7 separate regions of the Homo sapiens genome follow, and all the other regions are linked to region 1. Evidence: promoter capture Hi-C in 16 types of primary human blood cells and fetal thymus (Javierre and others, 2016). All regions are on one chromosome and are shown on one strand. Each heading gives the region's core, a stretch centred on a gene start or on the middle of the fragment in contact. The rest is flanking DNA. Distances are from core to core; before and after follow the strand shown.

What was found. Contacts are between HindIII fragments. The CHiCAGO score rates a contact against its expected background, and 5 or more counts as called.
Region 2: a contact is called between a fragment that was not itself captured here and the fragment with the promoter of HAX1 in region 1, in 2 of 17 cell types (total B cells and neutrophils). The highest score is 7.0, in total B cells.
Region 3: the fragment with the promoter of PYGO2 here is called in contact with the fragment with the promoter of HAX1 in region 1 in 5 of 17 cell types (neutrophils, non-activated CD4 T cells, activated CD4 T cells and 2 more); the score reaches 13.8 in neutrophils.
Region 4: a contact is called between the fragment with the promoter of S100A16 here and the fragment with the promoter of HAX1 in region 1, in 6 of 17 cell types (naive B cells, total B cells, neutrophils and 3 more). The highest score is 16.9, in naive B cells.
Region 5: a contact is called between the fragment with the promoter of MTX1 here and the fragment with the promoter of HAX1 in region 1, in 2 of 17 cell types (activated CD4 T cells and non-activated CD4 T cells). The highest score is 7.1, in activated CD4 T cells.
Region 6: the fragment with the promoter of EFNA4 here is called in contact with the fragment with the promoter of HAX1 in region 1 in 2 of 17 cell types (neutrophils and non-activated CD4 T cells); the score reaches 9.1 in neutrophils.
Region 7: a contact is called between the fragment with the promoter of FLAD1 here and the fragment with the promoter of HAX1 in region 1, in 5 of 17 cell types (non-activated CD4 T cells, naive CD8 T cells, total CD4 T cells and 2 more). The highest score is 8.6, in non-activated CD4 T cells.

Annotation. Positions count from the first base shown.
Region 1 is chr1:154,271,171-154,274,626 of GRCh38, forward strand. It overlaps HAX1 (HCLS1 associated protein X-1), which reads left to right and starts at 1,459. Exons shown (of 7, transcript NM_006118.4): 1 at 1,459-1,606; 2 at 2,166-2,428; 3 at 2,604-2,791. The coding sequence starts at 1,554. It also overlaps a transcript of UBAP2L not described here. RefSeq lists a silencer at 1,075-1,215 and an enhancer at 1,353-1,522. The HindIII fragment of the contact is 9,202 bases long and covers 1-3,456 here.
Region 2 is chr1:153,643,533-153,646,795 of GRCh38, forward strand. CHTOP (chromatin target of PRMT1) reads left to right here. Exons shown (of 6, transcript NM_015607.4): 6 at 1,532-2,774. The coding sequence ends at 1,737. Among named protein-coding and RNA genes, the nearest start is that of CHTOP, 11 kb to the left of the region's middle. The HindIII fragment of the contact is 7,820 bases long and covers 1-3,263 here.
Region 3 is chr1:154,959,732-154,963,233 of GRCh38, forward strand. PYGO2 (pygopus family PHD finger 2) reads right to left here and starts at 2,051. Exons shown (of 3, transcript NM_138300.4): 1 at 1,743-2,051; 2 at 1,246-1,295; 3 at 1-115. The coding sequence starts at 1,845. It overlaps SHC1 (SHC adaptor protein 1), which reads right to left. Exons shown (of 12, transcript NM_001130040.2): 12 at 2,567-3,502. It overlaps PYGO2-AS1 (PYGO2 and SHC1 antisense RNA 1), which reads left to right and starts at 1,807. Exons shown (of 1, transcript NR_171036.1): 1 at 1,807-2,892. RefSeq lists enhancers at 1-53, 1,658-2,398, 2,399-3,138 and silencers at 1,597-2,056, 2,107-2,516. The HindIII fragment of the contact is 6,114 bases long and covers 1-3,502 here.
Region 4 is chr1:153,611,608-153,614,803 of GRCh38, forward strand. S100A16 (S100 calcium binding protein A16) reads right to left here and starts at 1,530. Exons shown (of 3, transcript NM_080388.3): 1 at 1,345-1,530. It overlaps S100A14 (S100 calcium binding protein A14), which reads right to left. Exons shown (of 4, transcript NM_020672.3): 4 at 2,648-3,196. The HindIII fragment of the contact is 6,157 bases long and covers 1,053-3,196 here.
Region 5 is chr1:155,206,875-155,210,378 of GRCh38, forward strand. It overlaps MTX1 (metaxin 1), which reads left to right and starts at 1,821. Exons shown (of 8, transcript NM_002455.5): 1 at 1,821-2,458; 2 at 3,472-3,504. The coding sequence starts at 1,931. It overlaps THBS3 (thrombospondin 3), which reads right to left and starts at 1,023. Exons shown (of 23, transcript NM_007112.5): 1 at 924-1,023. The coding sequence starts at 1,002. RefSeq lists an enhancer at 24-807 and a silencer at 2,171-2,370. The HindIII fragment of the contact is 1,632 bases long and covers 1,558-3,189 here.
Region 6 is chr1:155,062,490-155,065,977 of GRCh38, forward strand. It overlaps EFNA4 (ephrin A4), which reads left to right and starts at 1,251. Exons shown (of 4, transcript NM_005227.3): 1 at 1,251-1,447. The coding sequence starts at 1,335. ADAM15 (ADAM metallopeptidase domain 15) reads left to right here. Exons shown (of 23, transcript NM_207197.3): 23 at 1-286. The coding sequence ends at 13. It overlaps EFNA4-EFNA3 (EFNA4-EFNA3 readthrough), which reads left to right and starts at 1,251. Exons shown (of 5, transcript NM_001407761.1): 1 at 1,251-1,447. The coding sequence starts at 1,335. It overlaps DCST1-AS1 (DCST1 antisense RNA 1), which reads right to left and starts at 1,502. Exons shown (of 4, transcript NR_040773.1): 1 at 1,268-1,502. It also overlaps ADAM15-EFNA4. RefSeq lists silencers at 652-741, 1,122-1,271, 1,562-1,711 and an enhancer at 2,202-2,703. The HindIII fragment of the contact is 1,420 bases long and covers 1,100-2,519 here.
Region 7 is chr1:154,981,375-154,984,593 of GRCh38, forward strand. FLAD1 (flavin adenine dinucleotide synthetase 1) reads left to right here and starts at 1,970. Exons shown (of 7, transcript NM_025207.5): 1 at 1,970-2,692. The coding sequence starts at 2,321. RefSeq lists enhancers at 25-622, 1,223-1,820 and a silencer at 1,703-1,882. The HindIII fragment of the contact is 2,398 bases long and covers 1-2,053 here.

The sequences.
Region 1 (3,456 bases), core at 209-2,708:
GATTGGGTGGAAAATGGAGAGGATCAAGAAGGAGCTGAGACCATTTCAAAGAAAAAAAATGCTTTATAGAGTTTTAAGTATGACTTAGATGGGTCCAGGCAAATAAACTAAAAAGAAGTGAAGGCAACATGTATCGTCTGGCAGAACTAAATCTTGGAGTGGGGTGAGGGATGAAAGACTACATATTGGGTACAGTGTACACTGCTCGGGTGATGGGTGCGCTAAAGTCGCAGAAATCACTAAAGAACTCATCCATGTAACCAAACACCACCTGTACCCCAAAAACGAAATAAAAAAACAAAACCTTGGGGCCCATTCCCCCTAGGAATGGACTACTGTAGTAGTGGCTTCTTGGATGCTTCTCTGTGACATAGCTATACCCAATTCTTTGAAAAAGAATCTAGAGCAAGGTCTGGCTTGGGGATGGGGTACAGGGAGAGACAGGTCTCGGAGAGGTTTTGAACAAAACACTTTTAAAAAGGAATGAGGACAGGCGCTTTGGGAGGCTGGGTTGGGCGGATCACCTTAGGTCAGGAGTTCGAGACCAGCCTGGTCAACATGGTGAAACCCCGTTTCTACAAAAAATACAAAAGTAGCCGGGCGTGGAGGCGCATGACTGTAATCCCAGCTACTCGGGAGGCTGAGACAGGAGAGAACCTGGGAGGCGAAGGTTGCAGTGAGCCGACATGGTGCCACTGCACTCCAGCCTGGGAAACATGAGAGAAAACTCTGTCTCAAAAAAAAAAAAAAAAAAAAAAAAAAAAAGATACCAAAGGGATATTTCTTTATAACCCCCAATTTGTTCCTTCTCAGGACTCAACTAGCTTCCCTTCCCTTGCTTTCTTAAAAATCCTTTGTCTTGCTGGTTGCAGAGCCTGCTTAGAAAAAAGAATTCTATATAGTTATAACAAACTCCCTAGTAGCTAGAGAGGTGGAGGAAGTTAAGTCCATGCGTCTCTTATGTCTTGATCTCTTCTCTGGGAAATTCAATACTAGAAGGAGCTTGGAAAAGCATTTTGTTCATCCCTCTAACAGCAGACATCGCCCAGGTCAGTCAAAAAGAACGCCCGAGTAAGGAGCGAGGTGGCTTCTGCTGTGAGGCTGGCCAGCCCCGCGGGTGGGGTGGTTGAGGGACGCCCTCAAGCCGGTCCATTTGTGCGGCTGGGCTGCCCTCTGGCGGCTTTATCCGGGTGCCATCCAGAGTCAAACCCTCGAAATCGCTTTTCGTACTGAGTTGGTCTGCAGAAAGAAGAACAGATTTAGGAGGAAGGCGGTCATAGGAAACTGAAAGTGCGTCACGCCCACTCCCGTCACGGAAACTGGTCTCTGAAAGGTGGGGTAAAGATAAAGCCTTTCAAATTTGAGGAAGACCTTCGGTCCCGCCTCCATTTCACGTCCGGCTTACCGTCGTTTACGACAGTGTCAGGATCGCGGGCTTGCTTTCCGGTAGCGTGGGCTGACGCCTCGCTCAATTTCTCACAGGGCTGCGCAGGTTTCCCCCGTCTGCGAATGGACCACTGGAGGGGTTCAAAGGTTCGCGTCCCAGTACGGGAATGAGCCTCTTTGATCTCTTCCGGGGCTTTTTCGGCTTTCCTGGACCTCGGAGGTGAGAGTAGGTCCGGCTCGGACAAGGGTGGGGGTCGTCTGAGGGGAGCTTGACCCCTACGTCTTATTTTTGGAAAAACATCCTCTGTCCCACTCCTTCAACTCCTGCAGAGAGGACAGAAGTCGCAACATTGAACACTCACCCCGCCACAGTAACCAAGGCGGTCATTAAGAGGAGAAACAGCAAACTAAGCCTTTCTCCAACCTGGGGTGATGCAACAGGGACCCGGGCGGGGAAGACCGTGAGGGTCTGGGGAATAAGACAGTGAGCAAGTGAGCAGGACCTTGGGAGAGAGAGGAGGGACTGGGGCACACTGAAGAAAAACTGGGGGAAGGTGTATGAAGGGAGCTGCGAGCTGAGGTCTGACTTTGATTAAAAAAAAAAAAAAAAAAAAAGAACTGTCAGCCATTGTATTAATGTTTTGATGTGGCAGCCAGTCCTCCGACCCTCTCCCTAGCTTCCCAGACCCCTTGCTCTTGTCCCACTTTGCCACCCATGAGTTGATTTAATGGCTTAAATAGTGCTGAAATATTGGTGGCCAATCTGCCTCCACTCTCAGCCACAGAGATCCCTTTTTTGGAGGGATGACTCGAGATGAAGATGATGATGAGGAAGAAGAAGAAGAAGGGGGCTCATGGGGCCGTGGGAACCCAAGGTTCCATAGTCCTCAGCACCCCCCTGAGGAATTTGGCTTCGGCTTCAGCTTCAGCCCAGGAGGAGGGATACGTTTCCACGATAACTTCGGCTTTGATGACCTAGTACGAGATTTCAATAGCATCTTCAGCGATATGGGGGCCTGGACCTTGCCTTCCCATCCTCCTGGTGTGTGGCTTTCCCTAAGGGGCAACCTGTGGTTTCTGGTGGGTTGGTGGGTGAAATAAAGAGCCTGCAGGGAGTAGCTGGGGGATGGGAAGTGTGAGAAGACTGATGATTTCAGAGAGATTAATAGAGCCCAAGTCCTTTCCCATCCCAGCAAACACCTGCCACCTTTCTGCAGAACTTCCAGGTCCTGAGTCAGAGACACCTGGTGAGAGACTACGGGAGGGACAGACACTTCGGGACTCAATGCTTAAGTATCCAGATAGTCACCAGCCCAGGATCTTTGGGGGGGTCTTGGAGAGTGATGCAAGAAGTGAATCCCCCCAACCAGCACCAGACTGGGGCTCCCAGAGGCCATTTCATAGGGTGAGTATCCCATCTGGTCCTGAAGTGAGAGCTTGTGAGAGACCACTAATAAAGTGCAAAGACTGGCTAGGTGCGGTGGCTCACGCCTGTAATCCCAGCACTTTGGGAGGCCGAGGTGGGCAGATCACCAGAGGTCAGGAGTTGGAGACCAGCCTGGTCAACATGGTGAAACCCCGTGTCTACTAAAAATACAAAAAATTAGCCGGGCATGGTGGCAGGTGCCTGTAATGCCAGCTACTCAGGAGGCTGAGGCAGGAGAATTGGTTGAACCCAGGAGGTGGAGACTCCATCTCAAAAATTGTTTGAGACCCAGCCTTGCTCTGTTGCCCAGGCTGTAGTGCCGTGGCACAATCTCAGCTCACTGCAACCTCCAATTCCCAGGTTCAAGTGATTCTCCTGCCTCAGCCTCCTGAGTAGCTGGGATTACAGTCGCCTGCCAAACGCCCAGCTAATTTTTGTGTTTTTAGTAGAGATGGCGTTTCACCGTGTTGGCCAGGCTGCTTTTGAGCTCCTGACCTCAGGTGATCCACCCACCTCGGCCTCCCAAAGTGCTGGAATTACAAGTGTGAGCCATCATGCCTGGCCAAAGATTGCAATTCTTGTTTGAATCTGATAGCCTTGGGTTGGAATCCTAAGCCCTCCATTTAGTGTTTTCTGTTTTCTAT
Region 2 (3,263 bases), core at 93-2,592, 630 kb before region 1:
GTCTCATGATTTTTCCAAGAATCAATCAAGTGCATATTATAGAGCCAGATTATATGCCATCTTCCTCCAAGCTCTTGCAAATTTAAATTGTATAGTTGAAAATACCCCCCAAAATGGTCAGTTTAGGGTTTTGCCTTTCTCTGCCCCTGTCCCACCACCATCACCACCACATACCACCCTGTAGCTCCAAATCCTGGTTTGAGTCACATGAGAATATAGAAGAGAGAGAGAGATACAAAGATGAAGTAGAGTTAAGAGGGTGGTGAGACTTGGAGCTGGGCATTGGCTCTGAAACCAAATAAATTCAATGTCACATTTGGTGCCTGTGGAGAACCAGAGATGACTTTTTTTGCTTAAGGTAGAGAGCAAGATGGAATTATTATCAGTTAACTAACTGGCTCTTATTGATAATCTTGCCTTTGAAATTTATTGATGTTTGTCTTGTGACCTCATGACCCAGATTGGGAAAGAGTTTAATGATGTTGCTGCTGTTAATACTAAATCTCATGGGAGCCTTCTGGTTTAGAGCTTAGTGGAAAACTCCCAACACCTGTCCAGAAAAAAAACACTATTGAAGCCCCTGTGTATATTTGCTTTGGTTCTCTTAAAAGGTGTCTTGGGTCTTCCATAACTTATGACCTTGAAGTTGCCAAGGAATAATAACTGTTAGGAAAGAAAAGTTGATAACCAAGGGCTTGTTTTCTTCTCTCCCATTATATGATACTTACTGAGTGAAGTGCAAGCTAGTTTGGGTTTCAGGATGAAATAACATGTTTCCAAATTATCTTGACTTGGATCCTGAGAGACATCACGAGGGTGGGAGAGACTAAAATAGCTTTTCAAAAAGCTGAGTTTGTTTTGTTAACTGAATTCACACTGCTTCTCAGATAACCACAATTGTCAGTTGTCATAAGGTAACTAGAATTAAAGGTAGAAATAGCTAGGACAACTCAAAATATTTTTTCAAATCTCCCCTACATTGTTCCTGTGTCAGAAAAACTCAGTCTCCTGACACATGAGGTCAGCTAGCTCATTAGACTTGATAAGTTTAAGGACAGGTGAGATGACTTTCCAGAAGGGTCTCCAATAAACTTAATTTGAAAACTGTCTTGTCTTCACACCCCTGATGCTCTGTGCTCTTGTTACCACCTCCCTATCTTACCAAATGGGGTTATCTGTCATGTATTTTAATTATGAACTTAGTGAATCTCAAATGTTAGGTAATTTTATCTTAGGATTGATTAAGGTTTTTTAAAATTATAGTTGCCAGTTAATTATTTTCCTTTATTGATAGAATAAAATTTGTTAAAATAGCATTTAGAGATGATCATGTGATAGAGGATTCATTATGTGTGCTTTCCATGTGTTGCTTTCTACCCATTGTGTTTCCTTTTTTTCCAGATTTCTCCTCTTTGCCCTGCCCTTCAGCTTTTCTCAGCTAGGCCCCACTGCTCTAAGGGGCATTTACTACAGCACCTATTAAACTTACTTGTAACTGTCTCTTTTTTTTTTTTTTTCCCCTTTGGGCCAGGTCGGGGTATGATAGGTCGGGGAAGAGGGGGCTTTGGAGGCCGAGGCCGAGGCCGTGGACGAGGGAGAGGTGCCCTTGCTCGCCCTGTATTGACCAAGGAGCAGCTGGACAACCAATTGGATGCATATATGTCGAAAACAAAAGGACACCTGGATGCTGAGTTGGATGCCTACATGGCGCAGACAGATCCCGAAACCAATGATTGAAGCCTGCCCATCCTCCCATGAGAGACTCTTGTTAGTCAACACATCTGTAAATAACCTTGAGATAACAGATGAGAAGAAATCTGATTGATGCTGGATGGACCTATCACAATAGGCTGTGGACTTACTTGCCACCAGCTTGTGCATTTAGTGTGTTCCTTTTACTTTTTGATACTGTGTTGTATGAAACCCTTTTGTCCTTTGATTTGGTTTTTTGTTTTTGTTTTTTTAGGGGGGAGGGGGGGTTTCCCCTCCTTTGCCCAGACTTCTCTTTGAACACAAATGCATTAGCCTTGTGGCTAGAACACCCTCTTCCTACCTCTGTCTCCCCTCACTTGTCATATGCTCTGACATGCTAACATTTCTTTTGTTCATCCCTGTTGCCCCCACAGAAACATCCCAGAAAAACCGGTCAGTGTTCCTTCCTCCCTGATCCTTAGGTTTCTGAAATAGGGTTCTGTTACATCCTCTTCGATAGCCTGTTTAAAATGTTTAGAAGGTCTGGAGCTCAAAAATGCGTTCTTCCACATTGATAATTTAGTAAACTGAGAACATTGACATCACTACAGGGCAGCATAAGAGGTTGCTTACATGTGGTAGCAGCTCTGGTTTGATTCAAGTTGCTACCATGTACATTGACAGCACATATACCATAACCAGCGTGTTGGGTTGAATTGCACTTTCTACCTTTGTATGAGATTTACAGACTTTCCTTCTGGGTTTGTATCATGACCAGAGGGGTACTATAGGGTTGGTTTATACTGCAATATAGAGGATCAGAAGCCATTTGATTTGGTAGGTGTGTCAGAAGGGAGAATGATGGCAGACGAACTGCTGGAAGAGGTCAGAAGATAGCCATGCTAAAATGCAATTATATCCTCATGTTTATCCCAAACTAATCTTGGACTTTTCCACTCATTAGCTTTGTTTTGCCCTTGTTTCCCTTGAAGGTTTAAGTTCAACCATATTCTGTCAACTGTTCAGTTTCAGTGGAATCTTGTATTTCTGGTTCATTATAACAAACTGTTCGCTTAAATCCACCCAGGACTCTCTTTATTTGAGGTGCCTCAAAATGCCATGGCTACTTTAATGATGTTTTTTTTTTTTTTTCTTGTGACCGAGTCTCGCTCCTGTCACCAGGCTGGAGTGCAGTGGCGCGATCTTGGCTCTGCAACCTCCAACTCTCTGGTTCAAGCGATTCTCCTGCCTCAGCCTCCCGGGTGGCTGTGACTACAGACATGTGCCACCACACCCAGCTAATTTTTGTATTTTTAGTAGAGATGGGGTTTCACCATGTTGGCCAGGATGGTCTTGATCTCTTGACTTGGTGATCCACCCGCTTCAGCCTCCCAAAATGCAGGGATTACAGGCGTGACCCACTTTCAGCCTCCCAAAGTGCAGGGATTACAGGCGTGACCCACTGCACCCAGCCACTTTAATGATGTCTTGATATACCCCTTGTATGGTTGAGAGTTTCTTTCTTCTTACTTGTGTTAAAATTCTGGAGAGCCTGTGGCTTTGAGCAGAAA
Region 3 (3,502 bases), core at 801-3,300, 690 kb after region 1:
CAACCCCCACTTTGGGGGCTCCGAAGTCATCTTCAAAAGGGTTGGATGCAACCAGGTGATCCACCATGGGAGTTGGGGGTGGTGCAAACTCCGTCAGATGTGAGTATGCAGGGCCCTAGTGAGAAACAGTTGAGGGAAAGAGGGTCATGGAGGGAAACACAGAGCTAAACCAAGAGAGCACTACCAACACAATACACATTTTGGAGGCTGATACTGTGGGCAGCTCAGGTCTAAAATCAATATGGACCACAGGCCAGGTGCGGTGGCTCACGCCTGTAATCCCAGCACTTTGGGAGGCCAAGGCGGGCAGATCACGAGGTCAGGAGATCGAGATCATCCTGGCTAACACGGTGAAACCCCGTCTCTACTAAAAATACAAAAAAATTAGCCGGGCGTGGTGGTGGGCGCCTGTAGTCCCAGCTACTCGGGAGGCTGAAGCAGGAGAATGGCGTGAACCCAGGAGGCGGAGCTTGCAGTGAGCCAAGACCATACCACTGCACTCCAGCCTGGGCAACAGAGCAAGACTCCGTCTCAAAAAAAAAAAAAAAAAAATGGACCACAGGCCAGGCACAGTGGGTCACACCTGTAATGCTAACATTTTGGGAAGCCGAGGCAGGAGGATCCCTTGAGCCCATGAGTTTGAGTAGTAACACAGCAAGTCTCTGTTACTACAAAAAAAAAAAAAGAAAAGAAAAGAAAAGAAAAAAGAAAAAAAAAAAGACAAGAAAAAGAGGGTGGAGAGTGGAACCAACATAGTGCAGTAACTATGTTTTAAAAACAGGCAGAACTAGGATGGAATCCCAGCTCTGACCCTGAAAAACAACCTCAAGACTGTGGAGCATGTATTTAACATTTTTAACCCCCAGATTTCTCATCTGTAAAATAGGGATAATGCCTATCTCCCCAAACTGTTAAAGCATGTTAGCGCAATCCCTGGCACTAAAAAAAGGATCAGTAAGTGGTAGGTGTTACGTTATCATCAGGAGGAAACCAGGACAGGAAACATGGAGGAGACTGGAACCCTGCGTGGTAAGAACTTTGGTCGAATCATCTCTTAGGAGAGGATACTTTCCCCTAAACTTGTTATAAGGTTCAGCGAAAGAACAAGAAGCAAAGCAAGAAAGACAGTTTTCTCTCTCCTCCCTGCAGCTGATACAAGATACAAACAGATACTGGAATGGCAGAGTAGACAGTGTGCCGCCAAGGGGCTGCTGGGAACCAAACCCACCACCAACCACCATTCACCTGAGTATTTGACTTCCTTCGCTTCTTTTCTGGACTCTTCATTTGCAGACCTGGAAGAGCGGCAAAAGGAAGACGCAGACAAGTTTCCCTGAGGTTTCCCCAACCTCTTTTCTCTCAGCCATGCTCTGAGGAACTCCTTTAACGTCAATACATACTTGCTTATTTATTCAACAAATGCTAACAAGGGGTGCAATATGAAAAATAGATTGTGAAGATGATCATACTCTCAGCTACGTCTTCCTTTAAATGAAAGATATCCCATCTTTCGATATCCTCAAGCTCCAAGTGAGTACTGAATTCCATGTGGCTCCAAACCCTAGAGTCCTCAATGTGTGACACCTGCCCCCAACCCCTGGAGGATTACACCCACCCATCCTTTTCACCTGAGCCTCCCTTCAAGCCTTCAGACTGTGAAACACCCCCCGCCCACCATCCCTCCCCTCTGAGGTTCCCAAGTCCTGGGCCTCTTCAGCCCCCGCCCCTCGCAGCGCGCTCACCGGCCTTGCCCTGCTTCCTCCCGGTGCTGGGCGGCGCAGGGGGCGGTGCGGGGCCGCCACCTCCCTCCAGCTTGTCCGGTGGGGGCGGCGCCGAGGCGGCCATGGAGTGGGGGACCCGGGTTAGCGGCAGCGGCGGGGGATGGAGGCGCCCTTGGGCTGCACCATCGCCCAGAAGGGGTGTCAGGGGCAGCCCAGGCCCCCGAGCTGCAGCAACCACAAAGTGCGACGACAGGGAAGCGCCGAGCCGCCGCGCAAACTGCGCGCTCTCTCCAGACTCGCCGCCCGCCAGCGGCGGCAGCAACCGGAACCGGAACTCGTCGCGGCCACCACCACTGAGCGCTGCGGGGAGGGGGAGCAAGGACCGGACGAGACGCTACGCCTGAAAACAGGCGGCGGGCGAGGGACGAGGCTTACCACGGCACCACGCGAGTGGAAAGGGTCGTCTCCGCTAGCGGCGGCCCACACCAGCTCACCGAGGGGCGGCAGCGCGCGGCCCGGCTGCCGGACCGTACCATCCCGGGCGGTGGAGCCGCCGCGGAGGGGCGCGCGCGAGCCGAAGGCGCACCCGGGAGGCCCAGGTAGCCCGGGGGCCGGTGCTGGGGCGCCGGGCAGGCCCGGCTCCCGCCTCGACCCACCCGGAGCCAGCCCCCTCTGCGGACACGACATCCCCATGGGGACGGTGGCGCGAAACGCCCCACTCTGCCGCACCCAAACTCTGCAGACCCCCAGCTTCCCTGGGCGGCCGCGACCTCCCGCCTCCCCGTCTGCCGCTGAGGGCCCGCGGCGTACACAATAGGCTTCCCAGAAGGGTTAAGAGGCAGAGGTAGAAGAAATACGGACTTTAATGAAGAGTTTTCCCTTTGGTATAAGTGAGACCCGTGGAAACATCCAAACAGCAAAAGGAGGCCAGGATGAAAACGGTCAACTCTCCCTTATCCACAAGGCCAAAAGAGGGGGGGCCGGCTTGCTGTGGTGTGGCCACCCCGGGCCTAGGCTGGGCCGGGCCTGTAGAAGGTACTCAGGAACTGCAGGTTTTGCGTTTCCCCTCCATGAAACTGACAGGCATTCGGGCTGACTTCTGCCTCTCAGTCTCGCGGTAAGAGACCCAAGTTTTTCTAGTCCTAGATGGAAATAAATTTCATCTGCCTCAGGTCTCTGGTATAAAAGGTGCGATCCCAGTTACCTCACAGGCCTAGGCGAGGAAAATGCCAAGAGCTGTAAAAGGGCTTGGAAAAGTCAAAAAGGTGATGTATAAATGTAATAATTGATTATCATTTTGTGCTCAAGAATAAGCAATGGAAAAGAAAATAGGAAAGTAAGTCTACAGCCCTAAAATATATGCATATAAAACTTTAAAAGAATGCAGTTCCAACTCTACAGATGGTATGTGGGGATTGTCTACTGCTTTATAGTCTCAATGCCCCTTTTCTCACCTCCACAAAATCCACCTGGGAGAGTTAACTGTACAAGAGGCCCAAATTCAGTCACCCCCACCCCGCCCTCCCAGAAAGGGAGGCAGGGCAGAGGCTTCAGGAGGAAGGGCTGCACTTTGGCGTAGAGTACATAGGCATGCAACATGGGAGGGCAGGCCTTATGAAATGTATATACAGACCCCTTGGGGTGAGGGGCCCCGGCCAGGAGGCACTGAGCAAGGGAGGGGTCCATCTCCCGCCTGGCCGGGAGTGGGGCTCTGGGGCAATCTCTAAGGGTTGCATATCCCCAGGGAGAGGGGACAGCTGCCACTCCTGCCTCTGTTATCC
Region 4 (3,196 bases), core at 280-2,779, 660 kb before region 1:
CATTCACTCTCTTGCACATTCATTCATTCATTCCCTTTTTCATTTACTCATTTGTCCTCTCTAACTTCAATATATAGGGAAGGTGCCATCCGAACTGGGCTGACAATGCCACCTCTATCAGCAAGGCTGTTTCAAATGAAATTTCTCCAGCCTCAGCTGTTCCATTCTCTGCTCCTTCCTGTGTTCTTTCTCCAATTCCACAAGGCCCTCTCCAGGAACAGCTCCCGGAGCATAGTGGGGCCTGCTTGGCCCTGCCTCACCCCTTACCATCCTCACAGGATTCTGCGTCTAACTCTCTTTGTCTCTCTCTCACACACACACACACACACACACACACACACACACCGAGCAAGGACCTCGGCCATTCCTGATCCCCTCTGCTTGGGTGACCCATCACCCTTCCACTCACTTCAGTTCTTGGAGCAAGAAGCCAGCCTCTGAAATTTTTCCAGGCAAGTGAAGTTGGAGGAGTTCAGTGTGGATCTTGCCCCCGCCTCCCCCAACACACACACAGCTACCCCAGCCTCAACAACACTTACTAGAATGTGGGGAAAGGCAGAGCCAGCTCCCCAGCACCCCTGCCCTCACCACCATCCCCACTGGGCTGGGCAGGGGAAGGCTCCCATAGTGCAGGTGGCTCTGCCAAGAAAAGCAGCTCAAGCCGGGGCCTGCCTGGGTCCTGAGGTGGAGGAGCTGCCGAGGTTCAGCCCCCCTCTCTCTATCTTTCCCTCTCCCAGGGAGCTTGCAGGCTCCCCACAGCCTCACTCGGGTTCCTCCCAGATCTCATCATCCCTCTCAAGGAACAGCTCCTGGAACACAGTGGGGTCTGCTTGGGTCGTGAGGTAGAGGGGACGCCACCTCAGCCCCCGCCTCCTCTTCTCGGAATCTCAGGCTCCCTGGAAACTGCCTGGTTCCTTCTGGACCCCATCACCTCCCCTAGGACACAGCTCCCAGAGCCCAGCAAGGCCTGTGTCCAAGCTCTGACCACCCCCAACCCAGACCAACACGCATTTGTCCTCTCCTTTTGGGGAGGATCGAGTAGCTGTGGTCAAAGCTTCCAAATACTCTGCCCCTGGAGAGGAGCTCCGTCAGCTGCTGCGGCAGGGAGGGGGTCTCACCATCCCATCCATCCCTCTAAAGGCCTCACCCAGCCCCCAACCCCCCAGGACTCCCCATTCCTAAACTGGCCTGTGGGAGAAAGTTAATAATTACCAAAATCTTCCTGCCTGCTCTCTGGCAGGCCCCTCTCCCCAGGCCCCCTTCACTGCCCCTTCTCCTGGCCTCCCAATACTGTGGGGCCCTCCGGCAGCCGAAGACCTCCCAGGCCGGGCCCAGGGTGCTCACCTGCTGCCTCAGTCTGCCTCCTCTCCAGCAGGGCTCTGGGGCCTGGGCTCTGGCACTGCCAAGCAGCTCCCTGCGCTCAGCCCAGCCGGGACTCCTCCCCGCTGCACTCCCAGAATCTGTCCCACTCCCTCCCAGCCCTGCCCGCTGAGCTGGCTCGGTGGGGAGATAGTGGCTGAGCTCCTTCTTGACTTGGCCCTGGGGTTGGGCCCTTGTTAAAGGGATACACACCTTTTTTCACACCCCTCTACCCCCATCCCAGAGGGAGTGGTGAAAACTGGCACTCCCCCAACCCCACCCTCCCAGCCCCGCAGGGGCTGAGCAGAACCTGACAGGGTAGAGAAAGGAAGGGAAGGACTATCACCTGCCTTTCTCACCTGGGTCACTGGGATCCCAGTTTCAGGGGCTCCCAACAGACAAGTTCAGTTAACATTCCAGGCCAGCCTAACTGGCCACAGAAACCTCCTTGCCACTGGGGTTTCAGGAGTAACGCCCGACTTCTGTGCTCAAATCAGAAGGCAGATGCCAGGGACCTGTCTGGCTCCCTGGTCTTCTGTCTCTAGTCTGACCCATCAGCTCTACTGAGACCCAGCCCTAAGATCCCTCATGTACACCAGAAGACTCCTCTGGAAACTCCCCACACCCCACCGTTTCCCTAAGATACCCAAGGAAACTGGCCAGCTCGACCTCCCTACACTAGGGCAGCAGCTGAAACCAAAGAGGGGCCCACTTGCCCACTCCAGCGGGAATGATATTGGGTCACTGGGCACTCACCATGTGTCAGGCTCTCTGTAAGTGCTTTACATGATGTGTGGCATTGTCCTCCTGGCAATCCTGTGGAAGTAATATTCATATCCCCCATTTTACAGATGAGGAAACTGATACTAAGAGCATGCCCAAAATTCCAATGATAAGTGGCAGATCTGAGATTCAAACTCAGGCCAGTCAGCCTGTTTCTAACCGCCCCCCACCCCCACCCACCCCATTTCCCTGGTTGTGCCAGCCAGGGCTCAGAACACCTGGACTAATATCCTTTTCCCCAAGTGTGCACACATACCCTCCTCTCCTATAAGAGGGCCCGCCCATTGGCAAAGAGGAGCCTGTCCCTCAGAGAGGACCATGTTGCCCTTTTGGACCTGGTACCACCCTCAACCCAAACCCATAGGGAAAAGTGAGTCCCCATTCACTTCCACAGCCAACCACTCCAGCCCCACGTGCCCCACCCTACCAATGACTTTGCCTTTCACCCCCAAGCTCCTCTCACCCGTGGACCCTCAGGGAGGGGGTGTCCAGTCAAGACAACATGTTTCACTTTTTTCATTTTTTTTTATTAATCAAATGATACAAAACAACCATCATTCTGTCAATGCCCAAGCACCCAGCTGGTCCTCTCCCCACATGTCACACTCTCCTCAGCCTCTCCCCCAACCCTGCTCTCCCTCCTCCCCTGCCCTAGCCCAGGGACAGAGTCTAGGAGGAGCCTGGGGCAGAGCTGGAGGCAGGAAGAGAGCACTGGACAGACAGCTATGGTTTGGATTGGGGAAGAGATTAGGAAGTAGGTTCTTAAAGACCCTTTTTTAGTACCAGATATCCAGCCATATTCCCAGCTCCATTATTCAAATCATTTCCCATAGCCCAGCTCCTCTCTGTTCTCCCCCTACTACCAATTCTTTGGCTCTTACACAATTTTTATCCCTCAAATATTCATCCCTGGCCCAACCAGTCCCCTGAGCCTCCCTCTGGTGGAGACTCCTCCACCCATGAGCTCCCCAGAGCATCCAAGACAGAGTGCACAGAGACCTGGGGAAGGAAGCTGAACTTTGCAGAGATGAGGACAGGTGCAGGCTAGGGTACA
Region 5 (3,504 bases), core at 571-3,070, 940 kb after region 1:
AACCCTTGTTGCTCTCAGAGGACAGAGGCACTGTGCCTTCCTTTCCCCATTATTGCCTATTACTACCTTCCAGGAACCTGCAGGTTTGAGACTCACTTGGAAACACAGAAACAGCACCCCACAAATTTGAGATGCCCCCACCAGGTGGCGCAAAGGAGATGCTGTGCTGATCCCCCACAGGAGTGGCACCTGGTGTCCACAACGTAGAAATGGAAGGCAGCTTCTCTTTCCACTCCTGGGTTTGGCTCGTTCCACACCCTAGTTCCCCTCCTCCCATCCTAGGGGCGCAGCACACTCGCTCTGGATAAGAACAGCTGCCCACTGAGGACTCTAACCCTCCCACCATCTGGGCTATCTCCCACGGGAATGTAGGACCCAGCTCCTCTGCCTCCTGTGTCCTGGCCAATCTGTGGTTTTCCCTCCAGCCAGTAAAGAATCTATGCCTGTGTCATCTGCTCCAGCTACCTCTCCCACATCCATCGGCCCATCCCACCACCAGACCTCCGGGAGAGCCCAGGCTTCTTGGTCCCCACCCCCGCCCTGTCCTTGGGCAGCCAGGAGCCCAGGGGGACGAAGCCCAGGGACCTACAGTACGCCCACCTTCAGGCTGCTCTCCCAGACCCTAGGGTGCCTACAGATGCTCAGGAACCACCCCAGCCAGGCAGCCTGAGCATCCAGTTCCTGAGTCCTCTGCCCTGGCCTCATGCCTGACCCTGTCCTGTTCCAGCTCCCCCACTACTCTCCGGTGCCCACTCCTCTCCACCAGGCCATAATTTCACCAACTCTAGGCAGTCTTAAGTTTTCCTCTGGCTCAATTTCTGGACTCTTCCCCTCTCCCCTTGCCCACATGTTCTCTGCTACTTGGGCTGAGGGCAAATGGGGAAGAAGCAGAGAGCGGTCTAAGAGGATGGAGACAGGCTTACCCTGCAGATCCTGACTGGCAGATGTGAAAAAGCAAAGGAGGAGAAGAGCCAGGGCCCCCCGAAGTTCCTGCGTCTCCATGCCTCTCAGCCGGCTCACTACCCCTGGCAGGCAGGCAGCTGGGAGGGGAAAAGGCTAGGCGGAGAGAGCAGGAGCCGGGGGGCGGAGGGACAGAATTGGAGGGGGGGCCAGCAGGCGGGTGAGGGGGGGCTGAAACAAAGAGCTGCCAATCACCCTGGAGGCATCATCAGCTCTGGGAACCAGGGGCACTGGGAAAGAATCCTGGAGGCCTCCCTGCTTTCTACCTCTCCCTAATGATCCTCCCCCAGGTGCCTCCCTCTCCGCAGTCATCATTGTTGGGGGTCTCGGCACACAGCGCTACCGAATGCCACTGTTTTCTGGAAGCCACGATTGTGGAAGGCAAGAACCCCTGGCAGGGGCAGTGCTAGACAGTGGGCATTATTCCACAGCTGGCAGGAAAGGATGCCAAGGGAGTGGCCGCAACTAGCTTGCTATAGTGCCCAGGGATGCCCACATGGCATGAATTTTGCTGTTCTGGCGGAGCAAGTGCTCTTTATTAGGGTGGGGGGTCCCCTGACAAGTGCCTGTTTCTCCATTTTCCCTCATTCGTAGGAAAGCTTGGGAGTCTGGAAGCGTCTGACGGGAACTGAAGGGAGAATCTAAAGCAGTGGTCAGTGAGGTCAGAGTGAAGAAACCAAAAAAGAGGAAAGGGACACCAGGGACAGGCGCAGAAGACCAGGGGTACAGGCGAGGAGCCAAGGACCAGACTGTGGAACACTGTGGGTACTAGCGGACGGGCCGTGACCCGGATGAAGCAGAGGGGCGCCTGAGTTCCCGTCACCTAAGCGACAGCCTGCGAGCCTCTCTTCCCCTCCCCCACCCAAGCCCCAGCCCGGCCTCCGCTCCGGCCGCCGCCACCGCCCCTGTTTTGTTTCCATGGCGACAGGCGGCGCAGGGCCCGCTCCAAACATAACGCGCTGTGGAAAACATGCTGCTCGGGGGACCCCCCCGCAGTCCCCGCTCGGGGACGAGCCCCAAGGGGCCCTGGAGCAGTACAGGCCACGTGCAGTTTGGCAAGAGCCCCCAGACCTGGCCCAGGCGCACAAGACCCCGCTCTCCAGAGCCTGCCGCGCCTTCAGGGGTTCGGGGCTCCACTTGGACGAGGCGCCGTGACTCTCCGAGGCGCGCCGGGCCGACAGCGCTGTCCCGCTACGTGGGCCACCTCTGGATGGGCCGGCGGCCGCCCTCCCCCGAGGCCCGCGGCCCAGTCCCCCGCAGTTCAGCTGCCAGTCGGGCCAGAAGAAGCCTCGCCTCCCCGGGGATCTCCCCAGGCCCCCTGACCGCAACGATCGGAGGGGCGGTGGCGGGGGGCGGGCCCAGGCAGGGGAGGGCAGAAGCACACAAGGAAGTGTTTCCGGGACAGAGGGTGGGCAAGATGGCGGCGCCCATGGAGCTGTTCTGCTGGTCAGGGGGCTGGGGGCTGCCGTCAGTGGACCTGGACAGCCTGGCCGTGCTGGTGAGGGGTGGCGCCGGCGCCCTCTGCTGTGCCCTGATGACTGGGGAGGGGGCCGAACTAGCCAAGCATCCAAACCTTGCCAGGGCTACTCAGCACGGGCGCAGTGGGGGAAACTGAGGCAGTCAAAGAGCGTACGTGGCCGATATGGCCTCAGTGCCCTATGCTGTAGTTTTCTAGGCTTAATGCAGCAATGAAAAGACGCCTGGTTGGGAGTTCAGGTGATGGGTTCTAGTCCTTGCTCATCCATTCACTGGCTGTGTGACCTTGCGGAGATCCTTTCTCTTTGGGCATTTTTTTTCTCCATTCGGAGGTTTACTAGGCTGGACTGTCTCAGGGACCTACTCTAGCTTGGAATTCCTGCCTTCTCCTCAGCCCCCTTCTCCTCTTCCTCCTCACTTAACAGCATTTACTGAGGCTATTGTTTGTTAGACCAAACGACTCACAGCCAGGCTTTGTATAAAGAGCTTAGCAATCAGACTTCCTTTGCTTCATTTATTCATTGACTCCTTGCTTTAAAGAGGATCTATTAGATTTCTTCCAAATATTAAACATTGCCAGGCAAAGATGAATAAAATTTGGTTCCTCCCTTCGAGTTTACAGAAAGGCAGATAGGTAAGCAAATAAATATAATAAAATATTCACATATAAGTTAAAGTAGGAACAGACCACAGATACTGCCAAAGAGAAGGGCATTATCAGTGCTTCCAAGAAGAGGGATACTGGTTAGGAAAAGCTTCTGAGGATAGATGTTCACCAGGTAGATGGCAAGAGAGGAGATAGAGGAAAGGATTTTCCTGGCTGTCCTGTAATCACAGACATGTCCGGAATCTCTCTGAGCCCTGTGTTGTCCATTTGTAAAATAGAAATGGTAGTGACTCCCCCTTTTTTTTCGAGACTAAGATACTAAGTATAGGGAATGGCACATAAGGTATTCAATAAATGTTATTTCTCTTCTTGATACCACTGTGGGGGACATGGCTCTGCCTCTCTGACTTCTGCTTCCTTCCCTGCAGACCTATGCCAGATTTACTGGTGCTCCACTGAAG
Region 6 (3,488 bases), core at 1-2,500, 790 kb after region 1:
GCTCTACCTCTGACCTCTCCGGAGGTTCCGCTGCCTCCAAGCCGGACTTAGGGCTTCAAGAGGCGGGCGTGCCCTCTGGAGTCCCCTACCATGACTGAAGGCGCCAGAGACTGGCGGTGTCTTAAGACTCCGGGCACCGCCACGCGCTGTCAAGCAACACTCTGCGGACCTGCCGGCGTAGTTGCAGCGGGGGCTTGGGGAGGGGCTGGGGGTTGGACGGGATTGAGGAAGGTCCGCACAGCCTGTCTCTGCTCAGTTGCAATAAACGTGACATCTTGGGAGCGTTCCCCAGAGTTTGTCTGCTTCTAGAACCCGGGTCGCTCCTGCTGCGGTTCCAGGTTTGGCCGCCAGAAGACGCTGCCGCCTCAGACGAGGGCGGGCTGTGTGGGGCGGGAGTACCAGAAAGGGTCGGCGTGTGTCCCCGGGATGCTCGCAGCTTCCCTCTGCCCAGACTGGGGTGGCTTTCGGCGCAATCTGTCAAGCTGTTGGACCTGCCGTCCCCACTCTGACCATTGGCTGGGAAAAGTGGATCTGGCTGATGCTCCCAGAGCCCAGGAGCCAGGGCGGAGCGGGGCGGCGGCTGCTCCCACGATCCCAAGGCCGCGCACCTGCCTCCTCCCCCTCCGCCGCCGCCACCTGAGGGATCGGGAACAAAGGTGCTTTGTACAGGCCGCAACCACCTCATTACTTCGTCTTAGGGACTGGGGCCGCGTGGGCCCCCAGCCCGGAACGAAGGTGTGGAGCGGCAAGGGACAGACGCCAATCCTAAAGTGAGCATCTAGCGCGCCACCTAAGGCTCTTTAGGGAAGGTGGTCCCAGAGCTGTGTTGTCCCTTCCGCTTGCACTGTCCCTAGATGTGCAAAGAAAACGGGGCAGTGCATGAAGGTGGTTGGACAGGCTTCATGGATCCTCGCCCGCGCCTCACTTTCCCCTATCTGGGCAAAGGTTATGTACCCTTATTTAAAATCTTCCAAACTTCTAATAAGGCAGTCTACCCTGCACTAAAGCAGACACGAAAGAGATGACCTCCCTAAAAATACTGCTGTTGGAATACGTCCTTCCTTCCCGCCCCCTCGCAGTGCGGTGCAGCCTCAGTGGAAGCTTTGGCGAACCTGGCGCGCGCTGCGGTGCACAGAGGGTTAACTGGAGTTGGCGCTGGGTGGAGAGGAGGAGACGCGCTCCCATTGGCGGAAAGTTATTCAGGGGCGGGGTCAGTGAATCTCCGTACCCCACTCCCCTTTCCGCAACTTCCCTCTTCACTTTGTACCTTTCTCTCCTCGACTGTGAAGCGGGCCGGGACCTGCCAGGCCAGACCAAACCGGACCTCGGGGGCGATGCGGCTGCTGCCCCTGCTGCGGACTGTCCTCTGGGCCGCGTTCCTCGGCTCCCCTCTGCGCGGGGGCTCCAGCCTCCGCCACGTAGTCTACTGGAACTCCAGTAACCCCAGGTAGCCGGGCCGAACCGGGCGAGCGCACAGCCAAGTCTGCGCGCTCCCGGGCTTTGCGCGCGCCCGCCACCCGCTCTTTGCGCGGCGCCGCCTGAGCCTGGCCGCGCGCCGGGGCTCCTTTGTTTGAGCCGGCGGGGGAGGGGGGAGGGGCGAGGGGCGAGGCGCGCCCTGGGTCTCCCCACAGCCCGCATGTGTTGGGGGGCAGGCAGAAGACCCCAGCCCCAAGGGTTGTCTAGGGGGTCTTGGAGCATGGAGCTGGGGGGGCCTTTGCCCGCACTCCGGGCTCCGCCCCCCTCGCTGCTCTCCTGGCGATCCCCAGCCTCCCGCAGGCTGGAGCTGTGGCTGACGAACTTGAGAGCGAGGGAGGGGGCTTTACTCTTATGAAAGAGCGTGGGTTACTCTCCTGCCCGCTGGGTCTCACCTCTGGCTCTCACTCTGTCTCCTGATCTCATTTGCTATCTCTGCTTTCATCTCTGTCTTTATTGGTCCTTCTGTTTCTTTCCAGTGTCAGCCCTGCCCTTCTAGCCGAATCACCTCTGGGCAAGTCTCGTGACCTTCCTAACCTCATTTATCTCACCTGTATAATGGGCTAATAATACCTAGTACCCTGGGAAGTCTGGCAGGGTAAGTGAGGTCATGTATGTGAAAGAGGCTCAGGCTGTACAGATATAAACTATTATTTCTTTCTCTCTCCTGAGCTGCCTGCCTTTGAACCTTAGTATATTTTACTGTTTCCATCCCCCTCCCCAAGTCTCCCTGCCTCTCCTATTTCCTATCTGTTTTTCTTTCTGATTTTCTACTTGAGACAATCTGTGACTATTCATTTCTTCACTCACTAACATTTATTTATTAAACACATACTGTGTGTGCCCGGCCCTGTGCTAGGTTGCAGGGGATTAACTATATAGATGAGAAGATCAAGACCCTGCCCTCTGGGATTCCACAGACTCTCTGGAGAACAGGCGCAGGCAGGAGAGCCTGCATAAAGACAGGTCATTACAATACCAATAACAAGTGATAAGAGCTTTTGTTGTCCTTGGACTCTGAATTCTCTATCTCTGTCACAGACCAAAGCTTCTGAATCACTTGGAGGACCTGTTAAAAATTCAGGTTTCTCACCCCCCAATCTTAAGGTTTCTGGCTCATTCATTCAATCCACAAATATTTATTGAACACTGTCCTGTGCTGGGCACTTTTCCAGGCACGGGGGATGCAGTAGAACAAAACTTACCAAGGCCCTGTCCTTGCTCAGCTTGCGTTCTAGTAAGTCTGGGCTGGCTGAGCCCAGGAATCTTCATTTCTAATCAGAACTGATACAGGTCGTCCTTGGACCACCCACTGGAGGCTTTTCCTAAGTCATGCTTCGCTGTGTTTGTGGTATGGGGGGTGGTTCATGCAGCATTCAGTACTGTGGGGAGCAGCCCCTTCCAGCCCTTCCCACCTGTGCTGGCTTCCCCAGGCAGCTCCCAAGAGGTGGGGAAGGGAGTCCTGAGAAGACTGAAGACTGGGTAGTATGTGGACTCCCCCCATGCCTGGCACTTGCTCCTCCTGGCCAAAAAAGGGAGGCACCTAGCACCCACTCCCTCATTCTTTTTTTTTTTTTTTTTTTAATTTTTAGAATTTAGAGACAGGGTCTTGCTCTGTCACCCAGGCTGTAGTGCGGTGGCATAATAGCTCACTACAGGAACTTGCGGACTCTAAGGATCCTCCCGCCTCAGCCTCCCAAGTAGCTGGGACTACAGGAGTGCACCACCACTCATGGCCTTTATTTATTTATTTATTTATTTATTTATTTATTTATTTATTTATTTTTTGAGATGGAGTCTCGCTCTGTCTCCCAGGCTGGAGTGCAGTGGCGCAATCTCGGCTCACTGCAAGCTCCGCCTCCCGGGTTCACGCCATTCTCCTGCCTCAACCTCCCAAGTAGCTGGGACTACAGGTGCCCGCCACCACGCCCGGCTAGTTTTCTTTTTATATTCTTAGTAGAGACGGGGTTTCACCGTGTTAGCCAGGATGGTCTTGATCTCCTGACCTCATGATC
Region 7 (3,219 bases), core at 720-3,219, 710 kb after region 1:
GTCCCAGTTACTCTGGAGTCTGAGATGGGAGGATCACTTGAGCCCAGGAGGTCGAGGCTGCAGTGAACGGTGCTTGCGCCACTGCACTCGAGCCTGGGCAACAGAGAGACCCTGGTTCAAAAAAAAAAAAGGGAGGGGGGGCTTATTACTTAAAAGAATGGTCTAGACACCTGATCACCTGGGTCCACCATTCACTGTGTTTTGTGGTTGTGTGGCATCCCTTCACCTTTCTGAGCCTGTTCCTCATCTGTAAAATGAGCATGATGTGTATCTTACAGGGTATTTTTTTTCTTTTTGATGGAGCCTCGTTCTGTCGCCCAGGCTGGAGTGCAGTGACACAATCTCGGCTCACTGCAAGCTGCGCCTCCCGGGTTCACGCCATTCTCCTGCCTCAGCCTCCTGAGTAGCTGGGACTACAGGCTCCCGCCACCACGCCCGGCTAATTTTTTGTGTTTTTAGTAGAGACGGGGTTTCTCCATGTTGATCAGGCTGGTCTCCAGCTCCTGACCTCAGGTGATCCGCCCGCCTCGGCCTCCCAAAGTGCTGGGATTACAGGCGTGAGTCACCGCGCCCGGCCTTTTTTTCTTTTTTTCAATTGAGAGAACTCAAGCAATCCTCCCTCCTCAGACTCCCAAAGTGCTGCGCCCGACCAAGGGTTTTGAAGAGTAAAATTTGGCAAGGTGTGGTTTACCAGTCCTACAAAGAATGAATTCGGCCCGGCGCGGTGGCTCACGCCTGTAATCACAGCACTTTGGGAGGCCGAGGCGGGCGGATCACGAGGTCAGGAGATCGAGACCATGCTGGCTAACACAGTGAAACCCCGTCTCTACTAAAAAAAAAATGAAAATAAAAAAATTTTTAAAAAAAAGCCGGGCATGGTGGCGGGCGCCTGTAGTCCCAGCTACTCGGGAGGCTGAGGCAGGAGAATGGCGTGAACCCGGGAGGCGGAGCTTGCAGTGAGCCGAGATCGCGCCACTGCACTCCAGCCTGGGTGACAGAGGGAGACTCCGTCTCAAAAAAACAAAGAATGAATTCGGGCCCTTACCATTCAAAATGTAGTCCATAGAGCAGTGGGATCACCATCACATGGGAACTAGCTAAATGCAGATCTCAGGCCCCACCCAAACCTACTGAATCAATCTGCATATGAAAAGATCCCCAGATTATTGTTGGAAAAAAGTTTAAGATGTACTTTTAGAACAAAGGCAACTGAAATGGGGGTAAGCTCGGATGATGTGAGGATCCAGAGTAAACATGTAAGGCACTCCCTATTCGCTGCCTCATTTGCACCTACAAGACCAATTACTGGGAAAGGTCATTTGAACTAAGCACCATCTGGAGCAAGGTGGAGGAAGAGAGGGTTTTTGGACTCTTTCTTGTCAAAGAGATTTAAGTAATTCGTTTTGTCTACTATACTAGAGATAAATTAAGGTTCCACACATCAAAAGCTCACCTACTCCAGGGTCTTCATATCCGACAGACAGTGGTAATAATCTTTCTCGGTGTCCCTCCAACTTCCTTCTGCTATAAATAAGATGCTTTCTCACTCCAGTAAAAGCCCTTAGCCTAGTGTTAGAGTCACGGTGAATGAAAACAGCTTAAACCATGGCTAACTGACCCATTAAACAAAACAAAACAAAGCAACACATGCATAACAATTATTTGAATCCAGCACCAGAAACTCCCCGAGGGCCTTACAGCACCTTTAACTACGGCTCCTTTCCCGCCCTAAACTCCCGAGGTCCCGCCCCCGACCGTGGGCTAAGGTCCGGCCCCCGTATTTCCGGGCGAGAAGTGACCACGTGGTTGTCGCCTATAACAATCCGGCCCTGCTCCCATCCACTGGCTAAAGCCTGAGAGCGACAGTTGAATACACCAATGGGACCCTGGAAGAGTCTAAGCGACAGCCAAAATCACCATTCAATGTCAGCTAGGTGCAAGGCGGGACTTTAAGTACGGAAGCTGCCCCGGGACATGAGGAAAGGAACAAGGGAAAGAGCCGGTGAAGGGGCAGAACAGGCAGGTGAGAGTCTAAGAGGGCTCAGTAATCTGAAGCTTGGTGGGAAGAAGGGATTCTGGGCTAGAAAGGGTGCAGAAGCCTGAAGTAGAAAGAGACGGGATTTTGGTCCGGGGTGGAGAGCGAATGCATTGAAAAGGGCCAAGGCCCAGGATAAGGTAGACATTTAAAGGGGTACGGATGCCCAAGGTAGAGCAGACACTTGAGGAGACCAGCTCAGCAAACGGAAGACACTTAAAGTGGTAGGTTCTCAAGAGAGAAGAAGTTTTTAAGACTAGAGCTAAGCAAGACATTTAAAAGGACATGGGTTGGGATTTGGGAACACGTTTATTCCAGAGGCAGGAACAAAGGAGTCGCTTGTCAAGGATCTGGTTAGAGAAGACTAGGGTCTTCCTCGAAGGAAGCACGCGCACGCCTGCTCTCCCCCATTGTCTTTTCTGGCTTCTCCAGGTTCCCTCGACCCAGGACCCCCTGTTCCCAGGCTATGGCCCCCAGTGCCCTGTAGACCTGGCAGGCCCCCCGTGCTTGCGACCCCTATTTGGGGGTCTGGGTGGCTACTGGAGGGCCTTGCAGAGGGGCAGAGAAGGCAGGACCATGACATCTAGGGCCTCTGAACTTTCTCCGGGGCGCAGCGTGACGGCTGGCATCATCATTGTTGGAGATGAGATCCTTAAGGTGTGTCTGGGACAGAAAAGGGGGGAGGGCGCTGCGTTCTCCTGTCCTTAAGGGCCTGCTGCACATCCCTCCATGGAAGGAGGTGAAACAGGGTGGGAGCCTCTTTGCTGCAGTAGGATCCTGGAGTGAATCCAGCATATTGGAGGAAAATTAACCCTCATTCTTTCAATTACTCTACTGAAAAACTTGTAGCAAAGTCCCTACAATTTTTCAACCTGAGAGAGCTGATTGAAAAAAAGAAAAATAAAAAGGTCATTGCAATTTACCAAGCAGTATGGTAGAGGGCAGAGGAGCTACACAACAATGACAGGAAGCCCCTCGAGTAGAGGAGGTACAGGTGTGTGTATTGTATATTTAAGAGTTTTGGCCGGGTGCGGTGGCTCACGCATGTAATCCCAGCACTTTGGGAGGCCGAGGCGGGTGGATCACGAGTTCAGGAGTTCGAGACCAGCCTCAACATGGAGAAACCCCATCTCTACTAAAAATACAAAATTAGCCAGGCGTGGTGGTGCATGCCTGTAATCCCA